4 separate regions of the Homo sapiens genome follow, and all the other regions are linked to region 1. Evidence: promoter capture Hi-C in 16 types of primary human blood cells and fetal thymus (Javierre and others, 2016). All regions are on one chromosome and are shown on one strand. The core of a region is centred on a gene start or on the middle of the fragment in contact, and the rest is flanking DNA. Distances in the headings are between cores, read along the strand shown. Region 1 holds the start of FAM81A (family with sequence similarity 81 member A). Region 2 overlaps MYO1E (myosin IE). Region 3 overlaps MYO1E (myosin IE). Region 4 overlaps MYO1E (myosin IE).

Region 1 (4,748 bases), core at 819-3,318:
GGTATATCTGAGAGAGTCTAAAGACCAAGTTTTTCAAAATGTCCCAGGTGATTCTGAGGAGCCCCCAGGTTTGGGAAGCACTGGACCAGAAGATAAGAAGGAGGGTAGGGGCACAAGCAGATAGCACTACCTTCCGAGAGGAGACTTGGTTGGTGATGGTGCATTGGTTTGGAGGCAGCACTAAGGAGAAGCGGAAGAGCATCCCTACTCTGGTGAGACGGTGGAGGACACTAGAGAAGGCTCTTCTGCGGCAAGTTGTTCACTCAGGCTCTGGTGCTCGGGAGAGAAGGTGGGTTCAGCTACATAAAAAATGAAAATGCAAGAGTGTGGCTGCAGGATACAAGAAACAAGACATTTAAAGCCAGGTCGGAGTGACACAGCCTAGTGGCCTGCAGAGAGAGGAGGCTGAATAATGCGCTAATAACGTTTCCAAGCACCATGTAGTGTGGCTCATTAAATGGTTGGTAGGGCTTCATGGTTGAATTCCTGGACACTAAGTATTTTTCTATCCGTATGCTATCAGATTTCTAACATGTAACACATTAAAGGTTATTAAGCCCTCAGGTAAACAAGCTTGCAGAAGCTTATTCATTAGCATTGGAAACTGTGTCTTCCCAACCCACGTTCTTATACAGATGAAATCAGATTCGAATGAAAATCAAGGGTAGCTTTAAGTAGAAAGTCAGAAGGGGCAACCAGGGGTACCTGTGAGAGGGTACGTCCTCCATTCCCCTCCGTGGAAGAGGGAAGTTTATAGACAGTGGATATGGAAGGGGGCCTAAGTGTCCTTTTTAGTACCAGTCAACGCTAAAAATATTATAAGTGCCAAGGAACCCGCCCCCCCCAACACACACACACACACATACACACACGCGCATTCAGTGACAGGGCCCAGAAGGCAGATACAATGTGCAAATCTGGGGATGGTTCTCAATAAAGAATATATTTACTCTACAAACCTCTTATTTTAAAAGCAAGTTGCAAATGTTTGCCCTTGCTTCTGAGAGAGCTGCACTTTTGTGGATTCGAATCATTCTAGCATTATTTCTGGTTACTCCTATGAAATAATTTCCAACACTGCCGTACGCAGACTTTGAGCTGAGGACGAGAGCGCACGCGCACACACGCACACACACACACGCGCGCACACACACACATAAACCTCGTGCACATTGAAGAAATGACTCACTTAATTTGCTGCTGCCTGCCACGATTGGGTTTTGATTTTACCTGTTCAAATACAAAGTTTCCTATTAGATTAACTACAGGAAAGAAGAACTTAGGAGCATTAATCCTGATTTTGTTCATGTCTTTAGGGCACCAAAGAGGTTTTAACCTGTGCATCTTAAGAAGCCATTCTCCGGACCACCGACTGCTTGCTCCATAATCTTCCAGACAACGATAACATTTCTTACCACTTTAGGAGCCAATTAATGGAAACCCCTCCTAGAATAAACATGGTTAAGCTTTGCATCTCCGGTACCTGCAGAACCGTACTTTAGGGCTCTTTCTCAGCTCGCAGTAGGATGGCACAACAGCATTCTGGAACTGCAAAGACCCCCTAGCCTCTCGTTTGAAAGATGAGAAAAAGCGAAGGGGCGGAAGAGCAGATGGTTAACCTACCCAAGGTCACTCACTCTGAGTAGTGGGTCGGCTGACTCGCCTTTACCCCTGGCAATCCGTGCACCACCCCAGCTCCCCCAAACAGTCCCTCCGGGCGTCGGTTGGTTCGCTAGCATGCAGCCCCCGCGAAAATGCAACGCCAGTTGCGCTCTGTGCCCAACTTCAGCCCTTCGCGTCACATGCAGTTAACCCTCTCGCCCGCGGCATGTCACATGGGCCACGCGCAGCTCTCTCTACCCCACGCCTATCTCCTGAGAGGCTGCCCCAAGGTCACCGGCCGTCCCAGAGAGCTCCCGCCGCCCAGCCCCAGAGGCCGCCCGGCCGGGGTTCCCAGAGCGCGGCACTCACCGGCGCGGGGGGTGGGCGCGCCGCGGCTGCCCATGTCCTCGCCGGCGCGGCTGGGTGCGGCGGCCGCTGGCGCTGGCTGAGCAGGGCGCCCGGCTGCGGGCCCGCGCCGCGGGGAGCGCCGTCCAATCAGCGCGCGCCTGCCGCCTGGCCCGGCGCGCGGCCCGGCCGGGTTCGCGGCTCCCGGGGGGCGCGAGCCGCCGCGCGCCGCCGGAGCCGCTTCCGGGCGCGTTGCCTGGACGCGGTTGCCGTGGCAGCCCGAGCTGGAGGCTTTCCCCGCGCACCCGCGCCCAGCCTGGCGGCGCCGCCCCTCCTCCCTCCTCGTTCCCACACCCAAAATAGCCTCTGCTCGTCGCTGCTGTTTCCCACAGAGCTCGCATCCAAGCGCCTTGGAGTTGGCGGGCGGGGATTTCGCTCATTGGAAAATAAATCCTGTTGTAGGGATGGTTGATTTGGAGAGGTGTTGAAATGGTGCCTGACGGAGATCATAGCCATGGTGGTGGCACTGCAATTCTCTCTAGAGCCCCAATATACCTTATTTACTAAACCGCTTTCCCACAAAAATAGTTCTCTCCCCCGCCCCACCTCAAATTGGGGAGAAGTTATTTGATTAGGCCACGGTGACGCCCCACCTGTGCAGGTGAACGAACCCTCCGGGGCTGCCATGTGTCATTTACTGAATCGCCTTGACACCTGCAGTTGGGACCCAGGATCGTGTCTCATCGCAGCAGACACGACGAGAAGAAGAACCCCGAACACCCCTCCTCTTCCCAGCCCTTTCTTCTCCCGTCAGCTTCATCCCCTCCCAGCGCGTCCTGGCTCTTTCCACCTTCCTCTCGATTTTGGATTCTCATCAGGACGCACAAGCCCATTCACTCATAATTGTGCTTCCTCTCGGTGGGCAGGATTTCAGCGGAGTTGCGGGGGACACGACCTTTGCCTCATCTGGTTCGTGCCTCCTTCGCAGATACTGGTACTTACCCAGCACAGGGGCTCCTGTCTGTCTCCCCCACCCCGCCCCAGCCTGAGCCCTTCCAACCCAGGGGAAGGAGCCCGACATGGTAGAAGAGCCCGAACTGTGGATTCGGCTGAGCGGTTTTGGAATTCTCTCTCCGGCAGCATTATTATTTAGGGGCTATTAGTATTAAGGACTGTTATTTGTGTGTGATCTTTGAAATATTTGTGGGTATTCTGCGACTGTTTCCTCACCAGTAAAACGGGCTAATAACTTCCACAAAGCGCTAACGCATCTGTAACATTCATTCAGCCAACAGTATCTATTGGATGGCTGCCAAGTGCTAGAAACTATGCTTAGCCCTGAGACACAATGGTGAAGATGAAAAAGAGACACATCACTTTCTGATCCCACAGAGCTTAGAGCCTGACGAGCATTCATCAAATAATCACAGACACATGTTAACACTGCCGTTGTGACCAGGAGAGTAATGGCCTTGAGTCTTGTGATGTGTAGATCTGGTATAACAGCATCTCTTTAGTGCTGCAAAAGCTCAATGATTATTCTTTCCTTTCTCGGTTAGATTCCCACTGCCTGGTGCATGGTATGTACTAGGTAAATACATATTGAATTGGATCCTATGTCATGGTGATGACACTGTCACTCTGCTTCCCAGTGACCTTCTGGCTGTAACTGGCCACAACATCTGGAAAGGTGTGCATGTGTTAGCAGAAAGTACCCATTCAAACCTAGAGTCCATCACCAAGAGTCTAGAAAAAGGTTCAAAATATTTCTTGCCTGTCTCCATCGGGGTGCCTTTCAGTGCATATGGAGAGCATCTCAGATGGACACATAACGTCCCCTCTGTCTTGTTTCTTCCTCTTCTTATTACTCTACCCTTTCCCCGCCCACCCCAATACTGACCCTACTCCCTCTACTACTTGAGGTGCCAGAGCCTCAAGGCACCCCTTCCTGGCTTCCTAGGAGAGTGATAGTAGATCCTAATATTCCTCAGAATGGAACACCTATAAAACAGAGGAAGTGCCTTCTTACTTCTGGCCATCAAAACTGAACTTTGATTTTTCATTTGCTGCAAGACTCCCTCACTCTCAAAGGTAGGGAAGGAGAGGACCTGGAAGGTGAGGGGCTCTTGCCATATGTAGGCACCTTCTATTTAGGCTGACTTTCATTTCCTTTTTAAAAATCATAACAGTTAGCAAATAAGACAAATAATTGTATTAATAATTATTTCAAAACATGAATTTCTCAGTAAGAACCGGGCTTTCAAAGTGGTCTTGAATCAGGCCCATGACTTCCCACTTCTTATTTATCTTTTTTCTTAAGTGATTTGTTTTGAATCCCAAGGGGACAAAATTTAATGCACAATGATTAAGCCTACACTAGTTTCTTTCCAACTCTTTCCCTATTTTTGTAGGCTAAATTGCAACGAAATATCCATTTTTTCCAGAATCACTTTGATTGTAACTCATTACAGGAGATGGAGATTTTCTTGCATTACTTCAATTAAAAAGCCATGATTTATCACAAATTATTTTATGCTGCAAGGATTACCAAAAAAATTATCAAAGAGAACAATTCTATATACTTGATGGCTGTAATACTATTTACAAAGCAGTTATTTAAATACAAATAATTTGTTCAGTATATTATGCTAGACACCATGGAAATTCATTTTTCTTCTTTCTTTTGAGACAGAGTCTCACTCTGTCACCCAGGCTAGAATGCAGAGGCTCTCGATCTTGGCTCACTGCAACCTCTGCCTCCTGGGTTCAGGTGATTCTCCTGTCTCAGCTTCCCGAGTAGC
Region 2 (4,748 bases), core at 611-3,110, 170 kb after region 1:
TGATCCGAACGGCTTTTCCCAGAGGCACACCTGAATTATGCAACAGGAGTGGGAGTGAGCATTGTTGGAATTACCTGGAGTTCCCAAAGCAGCAGGAGAGCACAGGTGTCCGGAAAATAGCTAAGGTCTCTGCAGACATAGCAAGGTGGAAAAGGTGAGAATTGTTTAGATAAACAATTATTCCAAACTCTCACCGGAAATAACTACGATATGTTTATTTTCTTTAAATCAATTAAATTCTCCTTAGTTTTTCTGTAGAAACAGCCATTTTATTTTTTGAGACTTTTTTTTAAATTTTTTATTTTATTTTATTTGCTCTGTCACCTAAGCTGGAGAGCAATGGTGTGATCACAGTTCGCTGCAGCCTTGCCTTCCCAGGCCTAAGTGATCCTCCCACCTCAGCCTCCCAAGTAGCTGGGACTACATGTGAAGACCACCATGCCTGGCAATTTTTTTTTTTTTTTTTTTTTTTTTTAAGGAGATGGGGTCTCAGTATATTGCCCAGGCTGGTCTCGAACTCCTGGACTCAAGCAATCATCCCACTTGTCCTCCCACAGTGTTGTGATTATAGCACCCAACCAGAAACAGCCATTTTAAACCAAACTTTATTTTTTAGGTGTCTTCCCAAATAGTATTATCCCCAAGAACCCTACTGATAAATTTAGGGAGCAGGTACAAATTTCCCTCTTCATTTCATTCTGACCTGAGTCATTGATTCACGATTGGCCTAGAATAGTCCAAAATAAATTTTTGTTTTTGTTTTTTTTCCTGAATATCTCCTTAACCAGGCCCTAATCAGAATTTATGTAATCTACTTGGTGAAAAATCAAGACTTAATGAGATATCTCTTTATATAGCAAATTAACAGTTTTTAAAATGTTGGTCACTTTAGGAGCTCATATGCAACTGAATTCATATTTATTGAGTAACCAAGGGATTGGTGGGGAGGTGGTACCTTTGTCTGTTGTCCTGAGGGCAGCCCTTTATTCTTTGTGTGCAGTGATCAATTTGTCTAGGACAAGGCGGCAGTAACCACATTCCCTTTACAACTAAGGGAACAAGTACCCTCCTCCATGGAAGGAGCTTATTTGCCTGTTTGTTTTTCCCTGGGGATAGATGTAGACATGAAATAAACATCTTCCTCTTCTGAAGTGAAGATGGTTCTAGCAGTGCTGTGTTTCTTTAAAATTGGGTTTACCATAAGAATCATTATTACTTCATTCATTAATTGTTTGTTTGTTTTCTTTTTTGGGAGCCAGGGTCTGGCTCTGTTGCCCAGGCTGGAGTGCAGTGGCATGATCATGGCTCACTGCAACCTCGACCTGCTTGGCTTAAGCAATCCTCCCACCTCAGCAGGAACTACAGGCACGTACCAACCAACATGCTTGGCTAATTTTAAAAAAATTTTTTGTAGAGATGAGGTCTCACTAGATTGCCCAGGCTGGTTTCGAACTCCTGAGCTCAAGGGGTCCACCCACCTTATTCTCCCGAAGTGCTAGGACTACAGGCTTGAGCCACCACAACCTGCTCGTTCATTCAATTTTGATTAGGTCCTTACCAATTAGAAAAGATACTTTAAAAATCCACCTAAGGGAATTAGGTTTTCGAGTATGCAAAGCATCAGAGAATCTAAGTTAGAAGAGGCTGCCAATTTAGGGTTGCCAGATAAAATTCAGGACTGCTGGTTAAGTTTGAATTTCAGATAAACAACAAGTTACTTTTTACTATAAGTATGTACCAAATATTACTGGGGAACATACTTATTTGGAACATACTTAAAAAAATTCTTGTTTGAATGACTTTCCAATTTAACTAGTTTTCTGTGTTTTTATTTGCTAAATCTGGCTACCAGTAATAATATTAACGCAACAGTACCTGCTTATCTTAGACATTCTAGCTTTTGATTAAGAGTATGGGCGTGGGATCCAGACTGCCTGAGTTTGAATCCTAGCTCTGCCACTTATAGTGTGTGACCTTAAGCAACTTTTAAAAATTTCTCCGTGCCTCAGTTTCCCTGTACAGGCTGAGTATCCTTAATCTGAAAATTCCAAATTTGAAATGCTGCAAAGTTTGAAATGTTTTGATAATCGACACGATGCTCTTCAGAGCATTTCGATTTTGGATTTTTGGGTTAGGGATGCTGAACTGGTGGTGAGTGTAATGCAAACGTTCCAAAATATGAAAAAAAGCACAATCTGCAAAAAGCATTTTGGATAAGGGACAGTCAACCTGAAGTCAAATAGGTTGTTATTTGGTGCTAAGATGTAAATGTATATGTGTTTAATTAATTTTATGACGCCTTATTGAGTCTTGGCTACGGCATCATGGACGTCTTACCTGCTTGATAATTTTAACAGTACATGTATGTGTCCTAAATTTTCACTAATCTATCATTGGCCTCATCTGACTTTGGCAATTGGGAATACATTTTCCATGGCCCTTCTTCCATAACTCTTCAGTAATTTTCAGTTATGGCTCAATCACTGTCTCATCAGCATTTTCTCTTAGCACTATGGCCTGCCCTTAGACCAGAACTGGGCACTGCTGAAGTGGTCTTAAAACCACTTCATCTTCCCTAATAGCAATTCATGTTCCACCCCTTCAAGTATGAAGATCTTTCTGGTCAGTGACAAAGAGAAGTAAAAGCATAATCATGTCATTCTGCATGCTTACCTTTGTATATGCACAATAATCTAAAATATTATCTTTAAAAAAATTATATGATTATATGATCCATCTCACATTGATTTGTATTAAGTAGTAATAACACTGTGTCTAATAGAAACTAACAAACCATTGCCTCTAAAACAGCACCTGGCATGTTAAGCCACACTTGAAACATGCATCATGATTTGAGATATTACATGATAAAACATGTGCCTTAGAGGATATTAATTAAGGAAAAGCCATTACTATGTGCTGTGCTCACAGTGCTGAGTGTTCTATAATTATTTTATTTAAGTAAAATGAGACTATCAGGTAGGTCCTATTTTATCTCCATCAGCACCAGCCAATCTGACTGAACACCTGGGCTGGTTTTCATGGTACACAGGTCTTAATATGTAAATATAAAAATGTTCTCCTGTGGGAGGAAATCTCATAGTTTTAAGTCTTTATCTAAAACTATATATTTGTAAATAACTTTCTGTTTAACAATTTATTTGTAAAATTTCTAAACACCTTGAAATTGATCATTGAAAGAAACAGTTTTGAATGTCTCTGTGTGTTGTTTAGATTTTTTTTCTCCATGAAGTCAAGAAGTTATATTTATTCTCTCCATGAAGTCAAGAAGTTATATATATTCTATTTATTTTGTTCACTGTCATATCCCGAGCATCTAAAACAGTGCCTGGCATGTTAAGTAAGCACCCAATTCAAATTAGTTGATTGTTGAATGAATAATTGGAAATATTTTTCATGTGATCATAAGTCTTCATTTATTTTCATATATTAAAATGTGTAAAATTTTTAAGGCCCAGCATAAGCATAGCCTCTCTGAGAGGCCATCTTGTATTCCCCAAGCAGAAATAATACCTTCTTTCCCTAAACCTGATGTAGGTGGGTTTATAATTTTCTTCTCTGAAAACTACCTTATTTATGATTATTACTGTTATTTTGAGACAAGGTCTCTTTCTGTCACCCAGGCTGGAATGCGGTGACGTGATCTTGGCTTGCTGTAACCTCTGATCTGGGCTCACTGCAACCTCCGACTCCTGGCCTCAAGCAATCCTCCCGCCTCAGCCTGCCCAGTAGCTGGGACTGCAGGCACACGCCCCCATGCCTGGCTAATGTTTTTGTTTTTGTTTTTGTTTTTTTAGAGATGGAGTTTTGCTATGTTGCCCAGGCCGGCCTCAAACTCCTGGCCTAAAGCGATCCACCCCCTTGGCCTTCTAACATGCTGGGAGTACAGACAGGCATGAGCCACTGCACCTGGCCAGAAAATTACCTCATTGATGCCTTTTAATTCCTCTAAGCTTCTGGAGAACAGAGCTGTTAGTTCATCTTGTATCCCTGTATTTGTTAAATAAGTAGATGAATATTTTTTTTTATTTTTTTTTTGGAGACAAGAGTCTCACTATGTTGCCCAGGCTGGAGTGCAGTGACATGATCTTGGCTCACTGCAACCTCCGCCTCATGGGTTCAGACGATTCTCCTGCCTCAGCCTCCTGAGTACAGTAGCAGGGACTACAGGCGTGTGCCACCACAGCTGGCTAATTTTTGTATTTTTAGTAGAGACGGAGTTTCACCATGTCGGCCAGGCTAGTCTCGAGCTCCTGACCTCAAATGATCTCCCCACCTCAGCCTCCCAAAGTGCTGGGATTACAGGCATGAGCCATCACGCCCGGCTGATGAATATGTTTTTAGTGTACCTAACGGATACGAAAGTTCAAAGGAAAAAATGCATATCATTTGAGGGGAGGACTGATAACTGCTTTTTTCACTCTTTGGCCATTTTTCCTTTGTTTTCTTTTCTCCTTGCTGTACGTGTCACCCATCTTGAAAGAATGTGCTTTAGTTCATTTAAAATAATGATTTCATTTTGTAGCACCTTGGTAATTTATTACTCTTCCTTAGGAGGAATAAAGCCTGTGCTAGTTGGATGATTGCTTTCGTCTTTACTTGTAATCTTTTAGAAAACAAGTACACAAACTTTCCACTTGGACAGTCATTGTGAATTCTTGATAACATCTGGTTACTTAATTTGAAAAATGTGTAGCTATGAATATTAATGATGGACCTTAACTGAG
Region 3 (4,748 bases), core at 904-3,403, 150 kb after region 1:
TTCCACGTTGGCTTTTAAAAGACAGAGATGAGAAAATAATTTCATCAACCTTATAAAACTTTTAAAAATTGAGTTCTTATTCAGATATGCCCCAAACATTTTTCAGAAAAATAGGGCAATCTGAGAAAACCATAACATGTGAGTAGTTGGTTAACTCATGTCAGCATACCTCCAGCATTTTGCATGACTTATAAATAATGCGTATTTTGCAAGCAGTATAGGAGAGATTCTTCCAAGGATAGGAAGTCCTGACTTTTTGGCAGGTTGATATCAACTCTGCCACAGCCTGCTGATAACTCTTTGCATACTGTTCTTTTTCTCAGAATAGCATTTAAATTAGAGTTTCTTTGTTCCATGGTACAGGGTGATAGTTCATATTATGTCACAAGAAATTGTTCAGTTACCTCCCTGTCTTTATTTATATGCACAGCTGCTGGTGTTTCTAGCTAGTCTTCCTGCCTCATTACCTTGGCTGTGTAATTGAATTAGAAAAAGGTATTGAGCAGCTACTACTTCAGAGACTATCATTTTCAAACCACAAATTAGGACACAGAGTCTGGTAGGATTTTTGACTTATGAATCTATTAGGCCGGTGCCATTAATGGCAAAAACCGCAATTACTTTTGTGCCGACCTGTATGATTAATAAAAATCTTAATGGACATGCACACACTAATTTGGTATGCATTTAATAGGCTGACTTAATTTTTTCTTTTCTTTTTCTTAAAAATTTTTTTCACTTTTATTTTTAAAATTCATTTCAGCTAATTAATTAATTGATTTTATTATTTTTTTTAAAGACAGTGTCTAGTCGGGCGTGGTGGCTCACGCCTGTAATCCCAGCACTTGAGGAGGCCAAGGTGGGTGGATCACTTGACGTCAGGAGTTCAAGATCAGGAGTTCTCTACTAAAAACACACACAAAAAAGAATTAGCTGGGCGTGGCGGTGGGCACCTTCTGTAAGCCCAGCCACTCGGGGGGCTGAGGCAGGAGAATGGCGTGAAGCCGGGGGGCAGAGGTTATAGTGAGCCAAGATTGTGCCACTGCACTCCAGCCTGGGCGACAGAGCCAGACTCCGTCTCAAAAAAAAAAAAAAAAAAAAAAAAAGAGACAGTGTCTTGCGTGTTGCCCAGGCTGTTCTCAAACTCCTGGCCTTACGTGATCTTTCTGTCTCAGCCTCCACTGAGATGAAGGACATGAACCGCCACACCTTGCAAGATTGCTTTAAAACTGTAAATAATAAAATTCTGTGAAACTGGCCTTGCCCAAGGCACAGAGGCATGTGAGAGGTAGAGCTTGTACCCAAGTCTGTTGATTTTAATCAGTTTGCTAGATTAGGAAGAAAAGTTACATTCCTGAATCGTATTACCGAATGTCTAAGAGCTTTGCACTTAAAAACAAGAGTGGTGATGTGGGAGCTCTCTTAAGGGACTGTTAAGTGCTTGATGTATGTGACATGCTAGCAGAGCCACAGCTGAAAAGACAGGGACTAACATCAGTGTGACTCTCTTGTCACTTGTTTGATTAAAATATAATCAGAGCAGAAGTGAAATGAGCATTTGTCATATTAAGGAATCTCAAGCATTTGATTCATATTATTCTGTAGCTTGAAATGTCCTTACCTCACTAATGATGTGGTGAAGATTAATTGCCTGTTATTCTGTTTAAAAAGTTAATCATCCAGGCTGGGCACGGTGGCTTACACCTATAATCCCAGCACTTTGGGAGGCTGAGGCAGGAGGATTGCTCAAGCCCAAGAGTTTGAGACTAGCCTGGGCAACACAGTGGGACCCTGTCTCTACAAAAAAAAAAAAAATTTTTTTTTTTTTTGGTAGAGAAACACAGCCAGGTATGGTGGTGCACACCTGTAGCCCTGGCTACTAGGGAAGCTGAGGAGGGAGGATTAATTGAGCCCTGGAGGTTGAGGCCTCAGTGAGCTATGTTTGCGCCACAGCACTCCAGCCTGGGTGACAAAGTGAGACCCTGTCTCAAAAAAATAAAAATAAAAATAAAATAGTAATCATCCAACCTCAAATATCTGTTACTCTTAACTGGACTACTTACATGGTTAAGAGAAGGAGAACTGTGTTTAGGGGCAATATCTCTTCCCTTTGATCTCCTGAGTTGGGGGCAAATAGGAACGCCTTGGAAACTTATTTCTTCCTTGGAGCAGACTCTGGGCCCAGGACTCCTATTTGCCCCACGATAGCTGCTGCCACAGTGCTGCCGTGTACCTACAGCAAACATGTTGTGAGGTGAGTCAGTGTAGCCTGGAATTTATTCACCCAGCTAGTAAAGATTGGGCACTCCCATGCCCCAGGCACCACCCTGGTGGGGACATGGCAGGGGGCAGACATCATCCCAAGGCTGACTCCAGGGCACGGAACTTCCTCTGCATTATGCAAGGCTGTGCAGAGCCAGGCTGCTCCGTGAGCTCCTAGCTTGCAGGGCTTTGTACCAGGTATTCTGTTTACCACGTGGTACTTCTTTTTCTTCTGTAAAAAAAAGGATAATACAAGTACTTGGTGGTGTCATTGGGCAGATGAAAGAAGTTGATACGTGACACATAGTAAACATGCAATAAAGCAGTTACTATGAACTTTAGAATTATTGCTGTTTCCAACTGCTGTTACTTTATTATGAGAGGCAGTAGGTACAATGTTTAAGGGCAAAGATCTGAAGCAGACTGCCTGGGTTTGAAGCCCAGCTGTGGGAGCTGAGCAAGTTACTTAACTTCTCTGTGCTTCACTCAGTTTCCTGCCTCGTGAAGTTGTAAGGATTAGATAAGTTATATGTAAAATGCTTAGAGCAGTGCTTGGTATGTAATAAGAATTAGCTGTTACGTGAGAATAATAATAATGTATTTCATTCATTCAACAAATACTTGGGGGCTGCCCATGCCATGCATCATGGCACTCTACTAGGTCTTGGGGCAGAATGGTGAATAAGACTTGGTCCTAGGGGTCAGTTTAATCAGGGAGCCAGGCACTCAGGTAATGCTGTTAGAGCAGGCTTCTTAGCAAGATGATGCCTGACCTGTGCTGGGTGAGAGTTTAGTAGGCATAGAGTTGGGTTGAGGTAGGGAGGAGTTCATAGAAGAATACCCTAAGCTGGGGGACAGTGGGAATGTAGGTACTGAAGATCCCACCTCACACACACACTGTGGAAAAACAGAAACAAAGCACAGCATGGTATGCACAGAAAATGGTGTGGTGGGAACCTCAAAACGGAGAAAGCAGGGGTTAGAGATGGACAAGGACAGGTCAGGGAAGCCTCGCTAAGATTTGCACTTCAAATGCATGCGCAGCTACCTTGAGGGGTTCCAGACCAGGCTTGTGAAGGCAGCCACTGTCCTCTGACCGCCCGTCTCCCTGGGATGAGGGCAACCAGAGCCCTTTTTGTGCCCTGGAGGATGGATGCCCTGAGCATCTCAGAGAGCCTGGGCTGCCCAGGCCTTTCCCTTTCCCCTTTCCCCTTTCCCCTTTCCCCTTTCCCCTCCCCTCTCCCCCCTCCCCCTCCCCCTCCCCCTCCCCCTCCCCCTCCCCCTCCCCCCTCCCCCCCTCCCCCCTCCCCTCCCTCTCCCACTCCCCCTTCCCTTTCCTTCCCTTCTCTTTCTTTGTCTTGCTCTGTTACGCAGGCTGTAGTGCAGTAACGCAGTCACGGCTCACTGCAGCCTTGACCTCCTGAGCTTAAGCGATCCTCCTGCCTCCGGCTCTCGAGAGTAGCCTGGACCACAGGCATGTGCCACCACGTCCAGCTAATGTTTTGATTTTGTGTAGAGATGGGGTCTCGCTATGTTGTCCAGGCTGGCCTCTAACTCCCGGGCTCAAGCAGTCCTCCCTCCTTGGCCTCCCAAAGTGCTGGGATTATAGGCATGAGCCACCACACCTGGTCTTCAAAGGGACTTTTGGTGAGGATCAGAGATAGGAGCCACCATTCTAGGGTTCCTGGAGTTTGTGAGGGAAAGAGGACAGAACCGTTTTGGTAATGCTTACGGGAAGCACTTCCTGAGAGAGAAAGAATAAAAAGCAGTTACCCAAGAGAATTTCCTGCTCAGCCTCAAGACAAGCCCTGACCCTGGGGACTACTGACATGTCCCACCTGTGGCTGGGAGGGTTTTCTGAGGTGGGAGGTCTAGACAGAGCAGGGGGCTTGGGAGCCCTGATGGAAAGTGCAGGGAATTCAGAACACAAACATAGGGTAGGTTCTACTTGTGAGAACACAACCTAGACTCTCGCCTGCAAACTAAAAGGGAAATCTGGTCTTACCATGTGAGATTTTCCACAGCAGAGTAAAATGCATTTGGGAAATCGAACAGAAGTTATTTAAATTCCCTATGGCTGGACTTGAAATTGACAAGAAAAGGCCCAATAGGGAATGCCAGTGTGTCCCCAGGTGTGGAACATGGCACCAGGGTAGACCTTAACATCGGTATGTACAACCCCACACTGGTGTATTTTACAATATTTCTCTTTTTCTTTTCCTTTTTTTTTTTTGAACAGGGTCTTGCTTTGTCACCAGGCTGGAGTGCAGTGGTGCAATCATAGCTTACTGCAGCCTTGAACTCCTGGGCTCAAGCAATCCTTTCACCTTTGCTTCCCAAAGCCCTGGGATTACAGGCATGAGCCACCGCGACCGGCTTACAACATTTGTCTTCGTAGCTATTTTTACATGTTGAAGAAACAAAACTAGCACACCAAACTGGTGGATTTTATGAAGATTGTTGTGTAGGTTTAATCAAAATTATTA
Region 4 (4,748 bases), core at 689-3,188, 130 kb after region 1:
AGCAGGGGTCCCCAACCCCTGGGCAATACGGTCCGTGGCCTGTTAGGAACTGGGATGCACAGCAGGAAGTAAGCATGCATGAGTGAGCATTACTGTCTGAGCTCTGCCTCCTGTCAGATCAGTGGCGGCATTAGATTCTCATAGGAGCCCGAACCCTGTTATGAACTGCGCATGTGAGGGACCTAGGTGACGTGTTCCTTATTAGAATCTAATGCCTGATGATGTGAGGTGGAACGGTTTCAACCTGAAACCGTTCCACTCCTATGACTGTCATGGAAAAATTGTCTTCCACAAAACCTGTCCCTGGTGTCAAAAACGTTGGAGACTGCTGTTCTAGAGTAAGGACCTTGTGGTTTTGCTCGTTATGATGGACATCCAGGGCCACCCTGGATGGTTGCCTTGACCATGCCTGTTGTCTACTGTGCATGAGAATCAGTTGCTGGACTCCAGGGCAGAGTGATGGCTGGAGGTCAGCATGCAGGCAGGGAAGTGGAGGGGGAAGATGATCATGAGTACATGAGTACGTGGGACAGGCAGGTTGGGGCCAGACTTGAGAGGGCTTACATGGCACACTAAGGGCTTGCTTGGAATTTGTCCTACAGAAAGTGGAGGTTTTTAACAAAATCACATTTGTTCTTTAGAACCATAATTCTGAGACCACTAGCTTCTTACAGAGTATATATACGAAACTACCAAAGGCAACTTGGTGAAGCAGAGGAATTTGGGCACGAAGGCTTGTTTCATCTTGGTGGTCAGCCCTTCCCACCTTTCTTTAGATACTATAATTCATTTCCTAGGGCTGCCTTAACAAATTGCTATGAACTGGTGGCTTAAAACAACAGAAATGTGTTCTCACAATTCCGAAGGCTAGGATTCAAAATCAGCATGGGCATCAGGACCACGCTCCTTCCGAAGGTTGGGGAGATTCTGTTCCATGCTTTTGCTCAGCTTCTAGTGTTGCTGGCCAGCCTTGGCATTCCTTGGCTTGTGGCTGTGTCGCCCCAATCTCTGCCTCCATCATCACATGACCTTCTCCCTGTGTCTGTTTCTGTGTCTCTTCTCTTCTTTAAGGACGTGAGTTATCTTGGATTAAGGCCCGCTTTGCTGACTTCGTCTTAACTTGATTCTATCCGCAAAGACTATTTCCAAATTAGGTCACATTCACAGATACTGTGGCCTAGGACTTCAACATGTCTTTTTTGGAGGCAACACAGTGCAACCCACAACAGATACACACTTCGCTGCACCTTATCATTTTAGGACTCAAGGGGGCAGTGGGTTTGCTGCCACACTCAAGCTGGTCAACTTGGCAGTGTCATGTGTTCTTCGTGAGCGCTAGGAAGCTGCCTGGACCTAGAGTAAGTAATACTAGCAGCTCACTTAAGTAATTATGAAGGGAAGGTGCACAGGACCTAAGCAGCAGGCTGTGGAGAACTGACCAAAAAGACGAGTTAGGGCGCTATTGCAGGTGAGAAATAAGGGGACCTTAAGTAAGGCAGTGGCTGTGAGAACAGAGAGGAAAGGGGAGTAGTCGAGGGGTGGGTCTGAAGGAGAACCACTAAGATCTGATGTAGTGGGAGGAAGGATCAAGGGTGATTCTTAGCCTATTTACAAATGTGGTGGGTGGGGTATATAATCCCTATCAGTATATACGAAGGCCTATCCAGACAAGCTTCTCTTTGTCTCTACCCACTTAAGTTATGCTTTATGTGCTGCCAAGAAGGGTAAAAAGGTGAAAATGATATGGAAGAAACCGAAGGGCAACCTTAGAAATGCATGTGAATAAAGATATTTTAAAGGCAGAAAGACACACATTTGGCCTTTCTGGGAAGATTTCTCTAAACGGAGTGTAGATGTCTCAGGGAATGGCAGCTACTGCCATACTGAGTGGACTTCTCACAAGGCGGTTCTAGGGCCGTCGTCCAGCCTGAGAATACACAGCTGGCTGACCTCCAGGGAGACTCAAAAATTCTTAGTGAACCTGTGTTGCAGGTCATGGCATCACCATCATGATGTCCTGTTATTCTTCAGTAGCATTTAGTAAACAGTTTTTGCATCTGTTTAGTTTACACAGCAATCTTGGAACAATGGAAAATCCTTTGACAAGTCAGAAAATTCAAGTCCTGTTTGTTGTTGTTGTTGTTTTAGTTGCTTTTTTGGGGGTTGTAGTATTGTGAGGAGACACTTAACTTATGGAAGCTTCATTTTGTTTTCAGTAAATGGAGCAGCAACACCATTCTTGTAGCATTACTCTGAGGATAGACATCAGTTAATGTATGTAAGGTGCCGGGCTCAGAGCTAGTGCATAGTACACAATCATCCCTTTTCTCCCTCCCCATCAATCTTCCTTCTCTTCTTTCTTCCAGGTTTTTTTCTTTTAATTTATTTTTAGAGACAAGGTCTCACTCTGTCACCCAGGCTGGAGTGCAGTGGTGTGATCATGGCTTACTGTAGCTTCCGAACTCCCAGGCTCAAGCTATCCTCCCACCTCAGCCTCCCAAGTAGCTGGGACCACAGGCATGCGTCACCAAGCCCAGCTAATCGAACAGGTTTTCTGACTCTCTGAGGCCCAGAGCTCTTTCTGCAATTCTGCCTCTCTGGGGCTAAAATATAAATATATAATAAATAAATAATAAACAAATCCCTCTAGAGGATTTTTTTTTTTTGAGATGGAGTTTTGCTCTTGTCACCAGGTTGAAGTGCAATGGCACAATTACCGCTCACTGTGACCTCCGTCTCCTGGGTTCAAGCAATTCTTCTGCCTCAGCCTCCCGAGTAGCTGGGATTAGGGGCACCTGCCACCATGCCCAGCTAATTTTTTTTTTTTTTTTTTGAGATGGTGTCTTGCTCTGTCACCCAGGCTGGAGAGCAGTGGTGCAATGTCGGCTCACTGCAACCTCCACCTCCCGGGTTCAAGTGATTCTCCTGCCTCAGCCTCCCATGTAGCTGGGATTACAGGTGTGGGCCCCCACACCTGGCTAATTTTTGTATTTTTAGTAGAGACGGGGTTTTGCTATGTTGGCCAGGCTGGTTTCGAACTGCTGACCTCAGGTGATCCACCCGCCTTGGCCTCCCAAAGTGCTGGGATTACAGGCGTGAGCCATTGTGCCCAGCCTAATGTTTGTATTTTTAGTAGAGATGAGGTTTCACCATGTTGGCCATGCTGGTCTCGAACTCCTGACCTCAGGCGATCTGCCCCCCTCAGCCTCCCAAAGTGCTGGGATTACAGGTGTGAGCCACCATGCCCAGCCTATTTTTTTTTTTTTTTTTTTTTTTTTTTTTGAGACAGAGTCTCACTCTGTCACCCAAGCTGGAGTGCAGTGGCATGATCTTGGCTTACTGCAACCTCTGCCTCCTGGGTTCAGGTGATTCTCATGCCTCAGCCTCCCGAGTAGCTGGGACTACAGATGCATGCCACCACATCCGGCTAATTTTTGTTTTTTGTTTTTTAATAGAGACAGGGTTTCACCATGTTGGCCAGGATGGCCTTGAACTCCTGACCTCAAGTGATCCGCTCACCTTGGCCTCCCCAAGTGCTGGGATTACAGGCGTGAGCCACCGCGCCAGCCCCAAGGATTTGTTTTAAACTCACTGGAGCCAGGCGTGGTGGCTCACGCCTGTAATCCCAGCACTTTGGGAGGCTGAGGCGGGTGGATCGCCTGAGGTCAGGAGTTCAAGACCAGCCTGACCAACATGGAGAAACCCCACCTCTACTAAAGATAGAAAGTTAGCCGGCCATAGTGGTGCATGCCTATAATCCCAGCTACTCGGGAGGCTGAGACAGGAGAATGGCTTGAACCCTGGAGGCAGAGGTTGCCGTGAGCCAAGATCGCGCCGTTGCACTCCAGCCTGGGCAACAAGAGCGAAACTCCGTCTTAAAAAAACCAAAACCAAAAACAAAAACTAAACTCATTGGAATCATTTACAAATAATATACTCACCCAAATAGCTAGATTAGGGGTCTTAGAGTCTATGAAGCAAACCCTGAGAGTGAAGGTGGGAAGGAAATGTCAGAATTATAAGCAGGATTAACGTAGATTAAAGTTGACAGAATCTGGTTCTTGCTCTGTCCCTTTCCCATGGTGGCCAGCCCCAGCTGCCCAGCTGCTGTTGTCTGTAAGCCAAAGCTCCTGCGTGTTCTCCTTCCAATAGAAAACGACTGTGCGGAACCTCATCCTCCCCGGGCCCAGGGTGTTGGTGCAGCTGCTGAGGGATCTGGTGAGGTAGCCTATGCTCATGTGCCACTGGAGATGCCCGGAGAGTTCCAATGCCCAGGCCATACCAGCAGCTCCCTGGGTGATGTCCCCTTGGACTTAGTTTCACTCTGAAGCTGGGAAGCAATAGCCTACATTTTCAGTTAAATAAAAGCTGGAAATGATGATCTCGTTAGGCCTGCCTCCTGTACTTCATGCTTTGGTGCTCTCCTTCATTTTCCTGCCAGGAAGACTTTCCCAGTGCCTCTTTCTATATGCTTGCATCCCGTTCTCAAGTCTCTGACCAGCGGTTCCACTTTGAAGTCCATCCCACAGAAGTATTAGCTCAAGGCTGCAAAGATACAGGAATGAGAACGCTTGCTGCAACGCTGCTCATAACAGGGAGACCAGGAAAATAACCCAAAGGGCCATTCACACACCAGGTTTTTGAGATGAATGACATCATGAGCAACTCATGAGCATGAGCACCAGGCGTGCCTCACCATCTTGGCTCCTTGTTGATAACGTGTCAGTCCCTAATATCCAGCCTGACTC

What was found. The method cuts DNA at HindIII sites, captures the fragments that hold promoters and counts their contacts. A CHiCAGO score of 5 or more calls a contact.
Region 2: a fragment that was not itself captured here is called in contact with the fragment with the promoter of FAM81A in region 1 in 1 of 17 cell types (naive B cells); the score reaches 5.6 in naive B cells.
Region 3: a fragment that was not itself captured here is called in contact with the fragment with the promoter of FAM81A in region 1 in 1 of 17 cell types (naive B cells); the score reaches 5.1 in naive B cells.
Region 4: a contact is called between a fragment that was not itself captured here and the fragment with the promoter of FAM81A in region 1, in 1 of 17 cell types (total B cells). The highest score is 5.4, in total B cells.

Annotation. Positions count from the first base shown.
Region 1 is chr15:59,435,506-59,440,253 of GRCh38, reverse strand. It overlaps FAM81A (family with sequence similarity 81 member A), which reads right to left and starts at 2,068. Exons shown (of 9, transcript NM_152450.3): 1 at 1,972-2,068. RefSeq lists a silencer at 1,841-2,370. The HindIII fragment of the contact is 11,804 bases long and covers 1,469-4,748 here.
Region 2 is chr15:59,261,520-59,266,267 of GRCh38, reverse strand. The region is part of intron 2 of MYO1E (myosin IE); the gene reads left to right. Among named protein-coding and RNA genes, the nearest start is that of LDHAL6B, 57 kb to the right of the region's middle. The HindIII fragment of the contact is 4,233 bases long and covers 1-3,976 here.
Region 3 is chr15:59,281,709-59,286,456 of GRCh38, reverse strand. All of the region lies in intron 1 of MYO1E (myosin IE), which reads left to right. Among named protein-coding and RNA genes, the nearest start is that of LDHAL6B, 77 kb to the right of the region's middle. RefSeq lists a silencer at 4,213-4,507. The HindIII fragment of the contact is 5,735 bases long and covers 1-4,748 here.
Region 4 is chr15:59,306,757-59,311,504 of GRCh38, reverse strand. All of the region lies in intron 1 of MYO1E (myosin IE), which reads left to right. Among named protein-coding and RNA genes, the nearest start is that of MYO1E, 64 kb to the left of the region's middle. The HindIII fragment of the contact is 527 bases long and covers 1,675-2,201 here.